Linked DNA regions of Homo sapiens: region 1 is linked to region 2. Evidence: promoter capture Hi-C in 16 types of primary human blood cells and fetal thymus (Javierre and others, 2016). All regions are on one chromosome and are shown on one strand. Each heading gives the region's core, a stretch centred on a gene start or on the middle of the fragment in contact. The rest is flanking DNA. Distances are from core to core; before and after follow the strand shown. Region 1 overlaps HORMAD2 (HORMA domain containing 2). Region 2 holds the start of NIPSNAP1 (nipsnap homolog 1).

The links. The method cuts DNA at HindIII sites, captures the fragments that hold promoters and counts their contacts. A CHiCAGO score of 5 or more calls a contact.
Region 1: a fragment that was not itself captured here is called in contact with the fragment with the promoter of NIPSNAP1 in region 2 in 6 of 17 cell types (naive CD4 T cells, M0 macrophages, total CD4 T cells and 3 more); the score reaches 7.4 in naive CD4 T cells.

What each region holds. Positions count from the first base shown.
Region 1 is chr22:30,099,884-30,103,076 of GRCh38, reverse strand. All of the region lies in intron 3 of HORMAD2 (HORMA domain containing 2), which reads right to left. Among named protein-coding and RNA genes, the nearest start is that of HORMAD2, 21 kb to the right of the region's middle. The HindIII fragment of the contact is 7,543 bases long and covers 1-3,193 here.
Region 2 is chr22:29,579,301-29,582,606 of GRCh38, reverse strand. NIPSNAP1 (nipsnap homolog 1) reads left to right here and starts at 1,494. Exons shown (of 10, transcript NM_003634.4): 1 at 1,494-1,622. The coding sequence starts at 1,525. RefSeq lists a silencer at 1,688-1,737 and an enhancer at 1,721-2,333. The HindIII fragment of the contact is 18,053 bases long and covers 1-3,306 here.

The DNA of each region.
Region 1 (3,193 bases), core at 546-3,045, 520 kb before region 2:
GTCATTTCCCTGTTATTTCTCTCCCTCTCATTGAAAAGGAAGGAATAAAAAATTTCACACGGATTATTCTCAAATATTTATTTTATCCGAAATCTACCTTTTTATACTTAAGAAGAATAGGAATATCATATTAAGAGTTTGGGTTTAGGCCGGGTGTGGTGGCTCACACCTGTAATCCCAGCACTTTGGGAGGCTGAGGCAGAAGGATTGCTTGAGCCTAGGACGTCGAAACCAGCCTGGGCAACCTAGTGAAACCTCACCTCTAAAAAAAATAATTAAAAAAATTATCTGGGCATAGTGGCACATGCCTATACTCCCAACTACTCAGGAAGCTGAGGCAGGAGGATCACTTGAGGCTGGAAGGTCGAAGCTGTAATCCTGTAATGATCATGCCGCCACACTCCAGCCCGGACAATGAAATGAGACTCCCTCTCAAAATAAATAAATAGAGTTTTGGTTTAAAGTAGTCCAAGATCAATCACTGATTTATGTGTGATTTTGCATAAGCAACTTCACCTTTTCGTATTGTTTTCCTATACTAAAATTGATGTTACCTGTATCTCTATTGAGGGATATGAAAATTATCCCATGTTGATATAACATTCAGAAATTACAAGAGAGTGACACAGGAGTATTAAGCATTTTTATGATGTATATTACTTTAAGAACAAACATTGAAAGGGAGACATAAAACTTCCACAATAACTGTCACAAAAAATAAAGCTATAGGGAATGGTATCATTGCCGTTGCCTAGGGTAGTGACTGGCACACAATATGTGCTTATTATCAAAAATATGTCTTTCTCAATTCTATGTTCTAGACAAGAGGGAAAATTACAAATATATGTTAGATATAAACACATTCACTATTACAAGTTTGTATCTCATAGACCAAAAGATGTCATAATACAAATGAGGTTGTCATGATTGCAAATATCATGTTTATGTGCTTATAGCACACATGCATTTTATTGATGCTCTTACATTACTTAAGATAATTTTTTTTTTTGAGACAGAGTCTCACTGTATCACTCAAGCTGGAATTCAGTGGTGCAATCACAGCTCACTGTAGCCTTAACCCCCCAGGCTCAGATGATCCTCCCACCTCAGCCTCCAGAGTAGCTGGAATTACAGGCACTCACCACCATGGCCAGCTAATTTTTTGTATTTTTTATAGAGACAGGGTTTCACCGTGTTGTTCAGGCTGGTCTTGGATTCCTAGGCTCAAGCAGTCTGCCCACCTTGCCTTTCAAAGTGTTATGGTTACACTTTGGATTACAAGCCTGAGCCACCATGCCCAACCAAGAGAATTAGACTGAAATGAGGCCAAGGTATATCATTAAATACAGATGTAAGAAATTTAAAATTAGATTTTGAAAAATAACATCTTACAAGGCAACTTGTAGCTCTCTATGTTTATTTTCCAAATGACAGTTCCTATTTTAGTGACAAGTCAACAAGATTCACAATCCAGCTTTTTTTTTTTTTAATACTTTAAGTTCTGGAATACATGTGCAGAAAGTGCAGGTTTGTTCATGTGCCATGGTGGTTTGTTGCAACCATCAACCCATCATCTAGGTTTTAAGCCCCACATGCATTAGGTATTTGTCCTAATGCTATTCCTTCCCTTGCCCCCCACCCCCCTACAGGCTCCAGTGTGTGATGTTCCCCTTCCTGTTTCCATGTGTTCTCATTGTTCAACTCCCACTTATGAGTGAGAACATACATAACACAGGTTTTCTGTTCCTGTGTTAGTTTGCTGAGAATGATGGTTTCCAGCATCATCCATGTTCCTACAAAGGACATGAACTAATTATTTTTCATGGGTACATAGTTTTCTATGATGTATATGTGCCACATTTTCTTTATCCAGTCTATCATTGATGGGCATTTGGGTTGGTTCCAAGTCTTTGCTATTGTAAATAGTGCTGCAATAAACATATGTGTGCATGTGTCTTTATAATAGAATGATTTATAATACTTTGGATATATACCCAGTAATGGGATTACTTGGTCAAATGGTATTTCTGGTTCTATATCCTTGAGGAATTGCCACACTGTCTTCCACAATGGTTGAACTAATTTACACTCCCACCAACAGTGTAAAAGCATTCCTATTTCTCTACATTCTCTCCAGCATCTGTTGTTTCCTGACTTTTTAGTGATTTCCGTTCTAACTGGCATGAGATGGTATCTCATTGTGGTTTTGATTTGCATCTCTCTAACGACCAGTGATGATGAGCTTTTTTTCATATGTTTGTTGGCTGCATAAATGTCTTCTTTTGAGAAGTGTCTGTTCATATCCTTTGCCCACTTTTTGATGGGGTTGTTTTATTCTTGTAAATTTGTTTTAAGTTCCTTGTAGATTCTGGATATTAAACCTTTGTCAGATGGATAGATTGGAAACATTTTCTCCCATTCTGTATGTTTCCTGTTCACTCTGATGACAATTTCTTTTGCTGTGCAGAAGCTCTTTGGTTTAATTAGTTCCCATTTGTCTATTTTGGCTTTTGTTGCAATTGCTTTTGGTGCTTTAGTCATGAAGTCTTTGCCCATGCCTATGGCCTGAATGGTACTGCCTAGGTTTTCTTCTAGGGTTTTTATGGTTTTAGGTATTACATTTAAGTCTTTAATCCATCTTGAATTAATTTTTGTATAAGGTGTAAGGAAGGGGTCCAGTTTCGGTTTTCTGCGTATGGCTAGCCAGTTTTCCCAGCACCATTTATTAAATAGGGAATCCTTTACTCAATGCTTGTTTTTGTCAGGTTTGTCAAAGATCAGATGGTTGTAGATGTGTGGTGTTATTTCTGAGGCCTCTGTTCTGTTCCATTGGTCTATATATCTATTTTGGTAGCAGTACCATGCTGTTTTGGTTACTGTAGCCTTGTAGCATAATTTGAAGTCAGGTAGCATGATGCCTCCAGCTTTGTTCTTTTTGCTTAGGATTTTCTTGGCTATATGGGCTCCTTTTTGGTTCCATATGAAATTTAAAGTAGTTTCTTCTAATTCTGTGAAGAAAGTCAATGGTAGCTTGATGGGAATAACATTGAATCTATAATTTACTTTGGGCAGTATGGCCATTTTCATGATACACAATCCAGCTTTTTAAACAAATAAGATTTTTGAAAACTTGTTGAGTCCTAGGTACTTGGGTTTTTTGTTTTTGTTTTTGTTTTTGTTTGTTTTTCTGAGA
Region 2 (3,306 bases), core at 245-2,744:
CCAAACTTACAGTCTTTTTGTTTGTTTTTTGAGACGGAGTTTCGCTCTTGTTGCCCAGGCTGGAGTGCAGTGGCGCGATCTCGGCTCACTGCAACCTCTGCCTCCAGGGTTCAAGAGATTCTCCTGCCTCAGCCTCCCGAGTAACTGGGATTACAGGTGCCCGCCACCATGCCTGGCTAATTTTTTTGTATTTTTAGTAGAGACGGGGTTTCACCCTGTTGGCCAGGCTGGTCTTGAACTCTTGACCTAAACTTCTGATCCACCTTTGCCTCCCAAAATGCTGGGATTACAGGCATGAGCCACCATGCCCGGCAGCAAATTTATAGTTCAACTTTGAAACAAAGATAACAGCCCTCTCCCAAAATAAACCCCTTTCTTGCCTGGGGACCAGACTGCTTTTGTAAGACTAACAAATTAGCCACGAGATTAGAAATTACGGTTTAGGAGTCATGCAGGTAGTGGCCACAGATTCTAAACCTCCCCAGTTGCTCCTAGGGATAACATCACTACTGTAAAACCTAAGATTGGTGCTCAAGATATTTTTCCGATCCTGCACTCAATGGATCCGCTGGCGATACACAGATTAAGAAACCGGATCATCCGGTTTTGTGGCCCCCACCCAGAGATCCACTCAGCACAAGAGGACGGCTTCCACTCCCTATGATTGCATCTCCGACCTGACCAATCAGCACTCTCCACTCTCTGGCCCCTACCCACCAAATTATCCTTAATAAAACCCAGTCTCCGAATTTTCAGGGAGACTGATTTGAGTAATAATAAAACTCCGGTCTCCCATTCAGCCGGCTCTGCATGAATTAAACTCTTATTGCAATTCCTCTGTCTTGATAAATCCGCTGTCTGGGAAACGGGCAAAATGAACCCATGGGGTGGTTACACTGACCCTCTGCTGCACATCCCGGACAGCCTTGTTAAGAACCCTTGGTAGGCTGGGCATGGTGGCTCACGCCTGTAATCCCAGCACTTTGGGAGCACGAGGCAGGCAGATCACGAGGTCAGGAGATCGAGACCATCCTGGCTAACACGGTGAAACCCCGTTTCTACTAAAAATACAAAAAATTAGCTGGGCGTGGTGGCAGACGCCTGTAGTTCCAGCTACTCGGGAGGCTGAGGCAGGAGAATGGCGTGAACCCAGGAGGCGGAGCTTGCAGTGGGCCGAGATCGCGCCACTGCGCTCCAGCCTGGGCGACAGAGCGAGACTCCGTCTCAAAAAAAAAAAAAAAAAAAAAAAGAACCCTTGGTATTATTGTTCCACGCTCCCATTTTACCGAGGTGGATCCTGAGGCCCAGAGTGGGCAAAGGGCTTGCCAAGGTCGCAGAGCGCGCAGAGGATTAGAACCCTGACTTCCGTCCAGCACCTGCGGAGTTGGAGACGCCCACAGGAAACGCCCACCTGACCGGGTGAGTGAGGGGGCGGGCGAGCCGGAGGGGTGGAGTTTATTCGCGCCCCGCCTCCGCCACCAGGGCTTGGGGGCGGGGCCTTCCTGCAACCTTTGCGGCTCCAACATGGCTCCGCGGCTGTGCAGCATCTCTGTGACGGCGCGGCGGCTGCTGGGGGGCCCGGGGCCTCGCGCTGGGGACGTTGCGTCTGCAGCTGCGGCGCGGTGAGAGCCCGGCCAGGCAGGGATAGACGCGCGCGGGGTGGGGTGCAGGCGCGGGGGCCAGGGACTGGGTCGTGGGGGAGGGGCTGAGACTCCTCGCTTGGAATCTGGGGGTTAGAGGCGGGGCAGGATCAAGGCCTAGGGAGGGGTCTGGGCAAAGAATGGGGGAGGTGAGAAAGGGATGGGTAGGGTCTTTGTCCTGGTTGGGACCGGGCTGTGATGGGGACCTGATGAAAGATGGTGAGAAGGGCAGGTACTGGGCCCTGGAGAGTGGGAGAGGGCAGAAGACAGGAGGAGTGGCCCATTCCCAGGCGTAGCTTGTGATTTAACACCCACTGGGGGCTTCTGGTAGTCAGCTCCTCCGTCGGGAAGTTCTGTGGGAAAGAGATGATGGCAGGGGAGCAGTGGGGGATCCCCAGGGGCCATGGCTGCACAGACCCTTTGTTCCTCCACCTCGAACTGTACAGGTGGGGAAACGGACCTGAGAGGGAATGGGAGTTGTCCAAGGTCACCCTCCCTGCTGTGCCGTGGCAGCACCAGGTCTGGGACCCAGGCCTGCCAATGCGCCATGCACTTTGCACCCAACTGGTGGCCTCCTGGGAGTGGGAGTCTGGCTGGGCCATGTGCTCTCAGCCTGGGCTTTTGTTTGGGCCCTGCTCTGGGCTGAGCTAGGGCTTGGCCTCCCTGACTGGCCCTGGGCAGCCCCTCACTCCTTGGTCCCCACAGCCCTGTACTTCCCCCATCTCTGCATATATGACCCTGCACAGTTATGACTTGGTGCTTGTCTGTCTCTCTCACTAGACCATGATCTCATTTTTCTCTGTTTCCCCAGCCTCCCACCCTCAGAGGGCTCAGGACTGTGTATGGTCAAGGAATATTTACCAAAGAAGTGAGGCCACCTGTTCCCCCTCCCCCAACCTGTGAAAAGGAAGCAACCATCCCTCCTGCCCTGCAGCCCAGGAATGAAGCTGCAAAGTTCTGATAGTGCCTGCCATGAGATGTTACAGCACAGAGCAGTGGGGCTTTTGGACAGCTGGGAAAGAGGAGTGGCATAAGCGCCCCACCTAGACTGCCCAATAATTAGGGATAAAGCTGACACCGTGGGAAAAGCCTAGAGTTTGCCTGGCACTAACAGATCTAACTCAGACTTTGTAGGTGGGGTGACCTCAGGACTCTTTAAGCCTCGGGTTCCTCATCTGTAAAATGGGAGTAATCAGGATGTATCTCATAGGGTTGTTGAGGATTAAAGATGCTGTGGTTGGTCGGGTATGGTGGCTCATGCCTGTAATCCCAGCACTTTGGGAGGCCGAGGCAGGCAGATCACTTGAGGTCAGCAGTTCAAGACCAGCTTGGCAACACGGCGAGATCCTGTCTCTATAAAAAGTACAAAAATGGCCGGGCGCGGTGGCTCACGCCTGTAATCCCAGCACTTTGGGAGGCCGAGGCGGTGGATCACGAGGTCAGGAGATCGAGACCATCCTGGCTAACACGGTGAAACCCCATCTCTACTAAAAATACAAAAAATTAGCTGGGCGCGGTGGCAGGCGCCTGTAGTCCCAGCTACTCAGGAGGCTGAGGCAGGAGAATGGCGTGAACCCAGGAGGCGGAGCTTGCAGTGAGCCGAGATCCTGCCACTGCACTCCAGCCTGGGCGACAAGAGTGAGACTCTGTCTCAAAAAAAAAAAAA